Regions from separate parts of the Homo sapiens genome. Here region 1 is linked to region 2. The links are contacts of gene promoters, found by promoter capture Hi-C in human tissues and cell types (Jung and others, 2019). All regions are on one chromosome and are shown on one strand. The core of a region is centred on a gene start or on the middle of the fragment in contact, and the rest is flanking DNA. Distances in the headings are between cores, read along the strand shown.

Evidence for each region. The method cuts DNA at HindIII sites, captures the fragments that hold promoters and counts their contacts. A contact is called where the count stands out against the background at its distance.
Region 1: a contact is called between a fragment that was not itself captured here and the fragment with the promoter of GTF2F2 in region 2, in 1 of the 25 tissues and cell types used here (lymphoblastoid cells).

The regions. Positions count from the first base shown.
Region 1 is chr13:46,335,413-46,340,853 of GRCh38, reverse strand. It overlaps RUBCNL (rubicon like autophagy enhancer), which reads left to right. Exons shown (of 15, transcript NM_025113.5): 15 at 1-5,441. Among named protein-coding and RNA genes, the nearest start is that of LINC00563, 40 kb to the right of the region's middle. RefSeq lists an enhancer at 1,663-1,742. The HindIII fragment of the contact is 3,450 bases long and covers 1-3,199 here.
Region 2 is chr13:45,118,580-45,123,887 of GRCh38, reverse strand. It overlaps GTF2F2 (general transcription factor IIF subunit 2), which reads right to left and starts at 3,378. Exons shown (of 8, transcript NM_004128.3): 1 at 3,167-3,378. The coding sequence starts at 3,232. It also overlaps the pseudogene RN7SKP4. RefSeq lists a silencer at 1-150 and enhancers at 2,463-3,104, 3,215-3,344, 3,105-3,748. The HindIII fragment of the contact is 5,168 bases long and covers 1,256-5,308 here.

The DNA.
Region 1 (5,441 bases), core at 225-2,724, 1.2 Mb before region 2:
GAATAGCTTGGTGGCACCTTTGTGGTGATGAGTGAGTTCTCACTCTTAGTTCCCATGAGAGCTGGTTGTTATGAAGCCTGGCACCTCCCTGCCCTCTCTTTGCCTCCTCTGTTTCCATACAAGGGGAGTCTGCACACGCAGGCTCCCCTTCCCCTCCACCATGAGTGGAAGCAGCCACAAGTCCTAACCAGAAGCAGATATTGGTGCGATGCTTGTACAGCCCGCAGAACCATAAGCCAAATTAACCTCTTTTCTTTATAAATCACCCAGCCTCAGGTATTCCTTTATAGCAACACAAATAGACTCAGACACTGGGGAAGCCATTTAAATTATCTAAGCCTCTGTTTGTAAAATGAGGGATATGACTCTCTGCAGTTGAGATAAGGATTAGAAATGAAAATGAAGCACCCACTAAAAGGCCTGGTACAAGCAAGGGCAAATGGTAATAATGAGGTCTAGACAGATTACAAACTGAGTCATACCCCTTATTTTCTGTATCTCTGGGTAAGTTACTCCCTGGGTCTCAGTTTATAATCTGTAATACAAGGATTAGAACAATAGCTACTGTTGTGGGTTGAATTGTGTCCCATGAAAGAATATGTTAAAGGTCTATGCTGGTGTCTGTGCTGTGGCCTTTTGGGAAGTAGGGTCTTTGCAGAGGTGGTTAAGTTAGGATGAGGACATAGTGCATTAGGATGAGTTTTGATCTAGTGACTGGTGTCCTTATAAGAAAAGGGAAATTGAGAGAAGAGAGAAGATGCAGGGAAGAAAAAAAGCAGAGGTTGGGGTGATGCATCTACAAGCCAAGGAGCACCAAGAATTGCTGGCAGCCCCCAGAAGCCGGAGAGAGGCAGGGGGCAGATTCTTCCTCAGAGCCTTAAAAAAAAAACCCAACATGGCTGACCCCTTGATTTCAAACTTCTGACATTGAGAATTATGAGAGAATAAATTCCTGGGGTTTTTTTGTTTTGTTTTGTTTTTGTTTTTGTTTTTTTGAAATGGAGTCTTGCTCTGTCACCCAGGCTATAGTGCAGTGGTGCGATCTCAGCTCACTTCAACCTCCGCCACCTGGGTTCAAGTGATTTTCCTGTCTCACCCTCCCGAGTAGCTGGGATTGCAGGCGCACGCCACCAGGCCTGGATAATTTTTGTATTTTTAGTAGAGACGGGTTTTCACCATGTTGGCAAGGCTGGTCTCTAACCCCTGACCTCAGGTGATCTGCCTGCTTCGGCTTCCAAAAGTGCTGGGATTACAGGCCTGAGCCACTGCGCCTGACCCTGTTGTTTTAAACCACCCAGAGTGTGGTCATTTGTCTGAGACTTCGGAATTCAAACCTGCTGGAAGGAACGTGGTAGACATGTCAGGAAGGGGTTTGACATTCAGTTTCTGCCCCCAGGTCTGAGCCTGCATGGCTGGCTTAGCCACCGTCAGATGCTACCTGCAGGAAGCCTTCCTGAACTCATCGCCAAAGGAGGGTGAAGTGTGTCATTTTTAGAAGCGTGCTTCCTTAAAACAAGCATTTAAGGATCTCTGTCTTTAAATAATTTCTCAACTGGTATGGGAAGGAAAACCGTAGTTCCCCTTTTTCACTTCACTAGAAACTAAAACAATACTTTTATGAGTAATGCTGAGGTAGCAGGCTGCAGACACAATTGGGAAGCTTCAGCACAAACATGAGAAATCGAGAACCTTTGCATCCTCGCATATCTGGGCAGCTCTCCAAGCCAAGGGGACTGAGGATTGAAGAGCTTAACCACATAGGTTAAGCAAATTGTGTATTTTTCCTTGCACTTTTTTTTTTTTTTTTGAGACAGGGTCTCGCTCTGTCGCCCAGGCTGGAGTGCAGTTGGCGTGATCTCAGTTCACTGCAGCCTCTGCTTCCCGGTTCAAGCGATTTTCCTGCCTCAGCTTCCCTAGTAGCTGGGACCACAGGCATGTGCCACCATGCCCAGCTAATTTTTTTCTGTTTTTGGTAGAGACGGGGTTTCGCCATGTTGGCCAGGCTGGTCTCAGAAGTGATCTACCCGCCTCGGCCTCCCAAAGTGCTTGGATTACAGGTGTGAGCCACCGCGCCCAGCCCTTCCTTGAACATTTTCTGGCCTCTGCTTGTGCTTCCAGGCTTCTTTCTCCCCAGGGCTGCCCCCTCTTTTCTAGTCCTGCCGTGTTCCTGCCTCCATGGTCTTGTTCTTCTTGCATCCCTTGCCTGGGATCAGGACTGCCCTTTCATCCTGGAAAGAGGCCCTGCTCTGGCCTTCCTCGGGCTACGTACATCCCCATTGGTGAGGAGACAAAGGGCAAGCGCACCCAAAGCCCCCACCCCTCCTGTTAGATCAAATGGAGCCCCAGACAGAATCCCCTGCCCTGTGGTCTCAACCCCACTTTTAGGGCTGCTCAGGTCTTTCCCCTGGTCCAGCCTCCTGAAAGTGAACTGCGCTGCTAAGACCAAGAGGCAGCCAAGGGGCAGCTGCTTGTAGGATGGAGCCAAAGTGGGAAGAGAGAGGGGCAGGGGTTGGCCCAATGCTAGCTATACCTGAGCCACCATGCTCCAGAGCAGAGCAGTGAGGAGTCAAAGATTTCAAAATTCAAACCTGCTTTCTCGGGTCCTGATGAAGGGATATTCACCATGGTAGGAAGATAAAACATATTTCAAATTTTAAATACTTGGATATATGGCATGTGGACCTGTATTTGTACTCTTGCATGGGCTCTGCAGATGGGAGTGGTGGGCGCTTCCCCTTTTCATCTCCCTCCCGATCTTGCCCATTCTTCAGCGTACTGCACGTGCACACACATGCTCCCTTCTCCTTACACTCTGATATCTGCATTTACCTCATTATTCTACTGGGGACAGCTCTCTGAACTTTTGGCAGCCTTTGATCCTTTCTATCTGCCCTTGAAAGTCTCTTGGAAGCTATGAGAGAGACTTTATTCTCCCTTTGCTCCTGCAGCCCCTGAAGGTCCACATTCCTGAGGGCCCTACCCAGCTCCCTGAGTGATTGTTTGAAATAGAACTACTCAGGAGTGCGGTGCCTGCATTGGACTTTTTACAAGCAAGAATAAACCTTTATTTTGTTCAGTTCCTGAGATTTTTGTGGGGCTGGTTCCTACAGTGTAACCCACCCTACTCTGACTAACATAAGATGTCCTGATACCTGTTGTCCAGGGGATGAGTACTGAGGGAACAGGTTTGTCACTGTCGTAGTCTGTTTAGGCTGCTATAATAAAATACCTTACGCTAGGTGGATAATAAACAACAGAAACTTACTGCTAACAGTTCTGGAGGCTAGGAAGTCCAAGATCAAGACAACAGCAGATTTGATGTCTATTGAGGGACCACTTCCTGGTTCATAGATGGCACTATCTCACTGTATCCTTACATGGTAGAAAGGAGAGAGAGCGGACCAGGCACGGTGGCTCACACTTGTAATCCCAGCACTCCCAAAGTTGAGATATATGCCTCAGGCTGAGACAGGCATATCACGAGGTCAGGAGATTGAGACCATCCTGGCCAACATGGTGAAACCCAGTCTTTACTAAAAATACAAAAATTAGGTGTGGTCGCAAGTGCCTGTAATCCCAGCTACTCGGGAGGCTGAGGCAGAAGAATCGCTTGAACCAGGGAGTTGAAGGTTGCGGTGAGCTGAGATCACGCCACTGTACTCCAGCCTGACAACAGAGTGAGACTTGGTCCCCCCTCCCTGCCCCCAAAAAAAGAAAAAGGAAAAGAGAGAGAGAGAGAACCCCCTGGGGTCTGTTTTACAAGGGCACTAATTCCCTTTGTGAGGGCCTCACCCTCATGACCTAATCACCACCTAAAGGCTCCACCTCCTAATACTGTCACAATTGGGGGTTAGGTCTTCAACACATGACTTTTGAGGAGATATAAATATTCAGTCCATAACAGTCATGCAGACATCAAAAACTATTCTACTCCTCTGAGTTATCCATATTATCTAGTATTCCTTACATTAAAAAATAAAGGAATATGCAGAGAGAAAAAAATTCTTTAACCTCACATTCCTTTCCAGTTCTACCTCTATGATCTTCTTCACAGCAACATTTTTGAAAGAACAGTTTTTAATGTTTGCCATCGCTTCCACACCTCTTTCTTCCTTTACCTACAACAATAGCATTTCCATCTCAACCATTCTACCCAAACCGTCAAGGTCACTAGCAATATCTAAATTCAGTAGTCACTGTATTGTCTTCACCTACCTCTCTACCACAGTTGCTTGCATTCTTCTTAACAAAAGAGAATACTGTTTTATAATAAAATATAATAAAATAAAAAAGTCTAGCTAAGAAAAGCTAGACTATAATGAATTTCATCATATTGTGGTGGTGATTATCTCTGTATAGTGGGATTAGAATAATTTTCAAAAATTTTCTTTGTAAATTTTACCATATAGACTAGATATCATTTTAAATAAATGATAGATCATTTAAACTAATGACAAATTACAGATGATAAATGAGATCAGTACTATACAACTTTTAAGAGTAATGGTTGCATTTCTACTGTCCATGCCCACAGTGGAGAAATCAGATTAGCTGTTGGGGACCACCTGAAACTCCATCTTCGTAGAGTCTGATGATGGAGGTGCTGCCTGGTACCCAAAGCTCCTGGTTTTCTTGGTTATTTAGTAAATTACTAAAGACCACGTGAACCAAAAAGAACAGGGCCGGCTGTCAGATAGACCAGATGGATGGATGCAACCATTCACCTTCCTCCTGGAAGCTTTGGAACCCGGAAACATCATGACATTTGTGATTTCTCCCCTTCCTCTGTAGACAGTGGTCTCTTTTCTTGGTCTCCTTTGTAGGTTTTCCTCTTCTTTCTCTGTCCATCTCTAAATAAAGACAGAGATTCCAGGGCTCAGTTTTGCCATCTCTTTTCTTCTCTTGGGATGGTCTTATCCAGTGAAATAGCTTTGAATGACTCTAAATTTGTAGCTTCAGCCCAGAGGCTGGTACTCAGCAGCCCACTGATAGCTGTGCTTGTATTAGTATTTCTTTACAGGCTTTTCCATCTCAGAAAATGGCACCACCATAGACCCAGTCGCTTAAGCCAAACACCTAGGAGTCATCCTTTCCCTTTCCCTCACTCCCCAGATCCAGTCCATCAGTAACTTCTGTCAGCTCTACCTACAAAATATATCTTAGTTGATGGCTCACCACAGCCACTGACATTATTACAGTACAAGCCACCATCTCTCTCCTGAACTTCTATTAGATTGAACTACGTAGCATTGCTGCTATTTTATAATTGTTGAGCTACCAAGTGGCAATTTCATGTGTGGTTCAACCTAATTAAAAACCTCCTATCTCCTCTTTCCACACTTGCCCCTCTATAGTCCATTCTCCACACAACACCAGAATGTTTATAAAGCATAAATCAGATCGTCTATCTCCGTGGATTAAACCCTCTGAAGACTTAATTT
Region 2 (5,308 bases), core at 2,129-4,628:
CAGACCCCCTGAAGAGGGAGGGGCCTAGGGAGCCCTGCCTTGTCATGTGCCATCAATAAAGTCCCCTGTGCTCAGCCAAAAAAAAAAAAAAAAAAATTCAAAATTCCAGAAATAGCACTTCATTAGGCCAGAACAGTACAGGTCCTGGATATTTTGTTATTTTGGTAAACAATCTACTACTATATTTGTTTTTCCCTAAACACACTATTTATCCCCAGTCCTGCCCGTAGGTTTTGGTTGTTTTTTTTTTTTTCTTTTTAGATAGGGTTTCACTCTGTAGCCCAGCCTGGAGTACAAGGGGTGTGATCTCAGCTCACTGCAGCCTCAACCTCCTAGGCTCAAGTGATCCTCCCACCTCAGCCTCTCAAGTAGCTGGGACTACAAGCGTACACCACCACGCCCAGCTAACTTTTTATAGTTTTTGTAGATAAAGGGTTTTGCTATATTGCCCAGGCTGGTCTCAAATTCCTGGGCTCAAGCAATTCGCCCACCTCGTCCTCCCAAAGTGCTGGGATTACAGACATCAGCCACTGCACCCGGCCTGCCATAAGCTCTTCTTGAAAGCTTCTTTGGAGGTTCTAGCAGGGGAGTACAACCATACATATACCCTTGACTGAAGACCAGTCCTCCTCTATCCGGATGGTCATCCTCTTTGGTCAAGCGTGCAGCTTCGGGAGGGACATACATGGAGCAGTGTGGGAGGAAGGAGACACCCGCCTAGCCAGCCAGATTAGCCAAATCAACCCTAGTAATCAATGGGGTGACAGATGTCCCAGACAGATCACACTCACATCCATTTTTTTTTTTTGAGACAGGATGTCACTCTGTCGCCCAGGCAGGAGTGCATGCAGTGGCACAATCTTGACTCACTGCAACCTCCAAATAGGCTTTTCTTAAACGTCACCTTCTTTATGATGTCTTCCCAGTTCTGGTGAAGCACTAATTTTTTTCCCGCTCAAAACTCTCAGAGATCTTGTATGTATAGTTCTTACTGTATTTACACAGTTCTATACCTGTCTAGTGATGGAATTAAATATGTACAAGATGATCTATAAACCGTGAGATATCCTAGGAAGAAACATTATTTAGCAACAAAGATCAGAACTCAAGGTATTATTTTTAATAGGAAAATTAATGTAAGGAGAAAAAACTTGAAATCAATATGTACTTCAATTCAAATTCTGATTAGATGAGAATGAAGATACACTTTCTAAGCAACAAATTACACTTTTTTTTAATTTATTTATTTTTTTGAGAAGGAATTTTTGCTCTGTTGCCCAGGCTGGAGTGCAACGGAGCAATCTCGGCTCACTGCAACCTCCGTCTCCCGGTTTCAAGTGATTCTTCTGCCTCAGCCTCCCAAGTAGCTGGGACTACAGGCGCACACCACCATGACTGGCTGATTTTTGTATTTTTAGTAGAGATGGGGTTTCACCATATTGGCCAGGCTGGTCTCGAACTCTTGACCTCATGATCCACCCACCTCGGCCTCCCAAAGTGCTGAGATTACAGGCGTGAGCCACCATGCCCAGCCCGATCCTGTGATAATTTTCTAATTGTGACTCTGGTTACCCTCCCCTCTAATTCGTACTGCACACTGCCAAACATTTTTTTTTTTCCTGAATAAATATCTGGCATCTCTACCTCACTCAAATCCTCCAAAAAGTTCGTTACTTCCTTGTAAACTAAAGTTAGAATATCTCCGTTTCATGATATGACAATCTGAGTATATGGTCCCCATCTTCATCTACACAGATCTTCTGCTCTAGGTTCTCTCTGTTTTCCACAACACGCCATGCTGATTATATATTTTGAGTCTTGCATTTCTGTTCCATTCCCCATGGTATACACTGTGTCCACCCATCCAAATCCTGTAAGACAAACATTGAGCATTTACCATGCTCCTAGGACAATGGCACCATCTCAAGTCACACCATTTTTTCAAGCTTTTTCCTTCAGTCCGTAAGGGCAATCTCCTCCTTAGTGACTCTCCCCCCAAGTAACATGCTGCTGGAGAGAGAAATGCCTATTTAATCCATCCTTTTAAGTCACACTGAGTTTGGAAATAAGTCAAATGAGTGCCACAGACTAAGGCGAGGGCTGAAGAATGAGAGGTCATGCATTTATTCATCATCTATTTGTTGAGTAATTACCATGCGCCAAACACTATTCTGGGTATGACAGGCAAAGATCCTGTTCTCATGGAATGTGATTCTGTGTGTTGGAAAGACAGAGGTAACCAACTTTGAACATATGAACACAAAATCACTCTACACTGTGAAAAGTGCTTTGAAGAATGTAATACACATCTGTCGTGTTAGCAAATGATCACAAGGGGGCTGTTTTAGGAAGGCCGACAAGAAAGACCTCTTAGATTTAATTGACGAGAACTCAGCCATGTGATAAAACAGTTAAAGCATTAAGAAACCAAAAGTCCTTACATTTTAAGTTTCAACGACTTTCAGGATCACATTTTGAATATGCTTAAGTATTATGAAACTCCCCTAGGAGAAAACACTCCCCAATATGAAACAATAAAGCACAAATAGTGCTTACTGTGAGCTAACCAAAATTGCTGTCTTCACATAAAACGTTTATTGACGGCCAGTTTCACGAGACCCAAATGTGCTCTAAAAGAATACTCCAGTCCAATGACCTCTCCTTCTGTGAGTTTGGGGCTCTCTCGCCTCTTTTGAGAGCTTCATTAAGGACCATCAACCTAAGAGAACACTTTTAAGAGTAGGCAGGGACCAGTCCTACTTTCTGGCCGAGAAAACTGTACAGAAAGTAGACATTCAACTACCTCACGCAGGCTCATGGCTAAAACCAGTTTCACCAAGGGAAGATACAAGGAATTCTTCAGTCTGGGATAAAATGCACCGTCCAAATCTGGGGACACCAAGACAAGATTCCAGGAAAGCCGTGAGAAAGAGATCTAGTCCAGGCAGATTCAGAGTAGTAACTGGCTGAAAGACACTTTGCGTCCCTAAACTAATTCCTCGTCTGCAAACAGATACAACAATGACTCCTGCCTCTCAAAATGTGTGAAGCTCTAACGAGATAGCCGTAAAAGAACTTTAAGAGGCGCACGGAGCGGGATAGGCTCAAGTTACTTAAACTATACTTGTGTTAGGAGGAGCGCAAGTGGGAGACTCGCGAACATTACCTTGACTAGCCACACTCCTGTGTTCTGTTTGGCGCCGGTCAAGTCGAGTTCCCCGCGCTCGGCCATGGGTCTGCAGCCGGTGGAGGCGTGCGGGATGCAGCAGCGACCCCAGGAGCCGCAGGGCTGAGGAGCGGGCGTCCGGAACAAAGGACAAGCCGCGCTGAGAGGCGAAGAGCCGGCGTTCCTTACCTGCCAGAACACTGGGAACCGAGGAAAAGAGGAACACGCCGCCAGGAGCCGGGACTGCGCCTGCGCACTGCTACGTCAGTACGGCGCGCTGTTGCAGACAAACTTTCTGTTTCGGAAATTTCTTGAGTGGGCGTGGCTGTCCGCGATGTCTGCATCTGAGGGATTAAAACGTAGGGTGGGATGAGCTAAAACGTTAGCAATGTATTTAAAGACATGGTCAGCATAACTGAAGAAAAAGATTATCAGAACGGAAAAATGGGGTTCAAAGAGACGAAAGGTGTCAGAACATGTCCAACCCTAGCCAAGGAGAGAGAGACAATATTTGAAGGACAGGGTCAGGGTAGTAAATTGGCGTCCCTGGCCAACGTCATTAGCACAAATGGGCACTGGGATCAAACTTAGTAGCCTTGGGTATATTGAAAACATGCCGTTTCTAGACCTGGAAAAAAAAAAGCCGTGTTTCAGCTCAGAGGCTACCCGAGCTGTTCTGATGAAGCAAGCGGAGCACCTCAGTTTCCAAAACCCGGAAGTCTGTAACGAAACGAACAAGTAAGAGACAAACCTGATCGTTTCCTCCCCTGCTTAAACAGTTTTCTCTTTCTCTTATTGCCTCTAGAATAAAGTTCAATCCTCCTGCTTCAACTGGGCCCTCTCAATTTCATCTCTTTGCACCTCCCACCATCACTCCGCCATGCACCAAACCACATCAAACCCAGCAGACTTCCCTAAACACGTCAGAATCTTCGTCGGTCATTTCAGAGCCTCTGCACACTGGATTCCCTTCCCTTGGAAGCCCTATTTTACCCCTGCCCTCACTCTCACCCCTGTGCTCTGGTTGGCAAACTCCTACTTATGGTTCAAGACCAATGAAAATGTCACTTCCTATGAGATCTTTTATCAACTTCCCCAGAAGAAATTAGTTTTTCTTCACATCACAGTGTGATACTTAGCACTCTGAACTATAATATATATGTTTACATATCTGCCTTTGCTTTCCAGACAATGAACTCCTCCTAGGCGGAAAGAGCTTTATTGAGGTATAATTGACAAATAAAAAATAGTGCTTTATTCATTTTATATCCACAATGTCTAGCACAGTGTTTAACACATTGTCAGGTTTCAGTAGGCTTTGGGTGAAAGAACATTCGCTGAAGAGAAACAAACAGTAAGGTATTGTTAAGAATGGCAAGTAATTTATTGAATCACACATCAGAGCCTTGCACAAAATTGAGGAAATTTTATGTGTGTTCAGCATAGGGCCAGGAAAAGCTGTCAGAACTCTGCTTTTAGCTAGGAAAACTAATAGGAAAGATGGGAGAGACCAGGAGTGTGTTGAAGATGAAAGTTTCAGGCTAGGCTCAGTGGCTCAACCCTGTAACCCTAACTTTGGGAGACTGAGGTGGGAGGATTGTGTCTGCCCAGGAGTTCAAGGCTACAGTAAGTCATGATCGTGCCATGCACTCCAGCCTGGGTGACAGAGCAAGGTCCTGTCTCTAAAAAATAAATACTAAAAACAAAATTTTTTTGGCCAGGCGCAGTGGCTCACACCTGTAATCCCAACACTTTGGGAGACCGAGATGGGAAGATCACTTGAGGCTAGGAGTTCGAGACCAGCCTGGTCAACATAGGAAGAACCCTATCTCTAAAAAAAAAAGAAAAACAAAAAAAAATTTTTTTAAGCAGAAAATGAAGGTTTCTTCTTGTGCAACAACTTGGAAAAGGGCCTTTTTAAAACATATAAAGAGTAAGCAGATTAAGGGAACTGCTCTAAACTTTAATCAAGGAGAAGGAATAAATTGAAATATGAGACCATGGGAGAAGAGAAGCAAAGTCTAGAGCACCCCAGGAATGGACTTTAAAGATTGGAACCCTGGCTTTGGTCTCTGGGTCATGGGAGGCCTTAAAATGTGTACGTGGTGTGGGTATGTGTGTATGTGTGTGTACACAGAGATT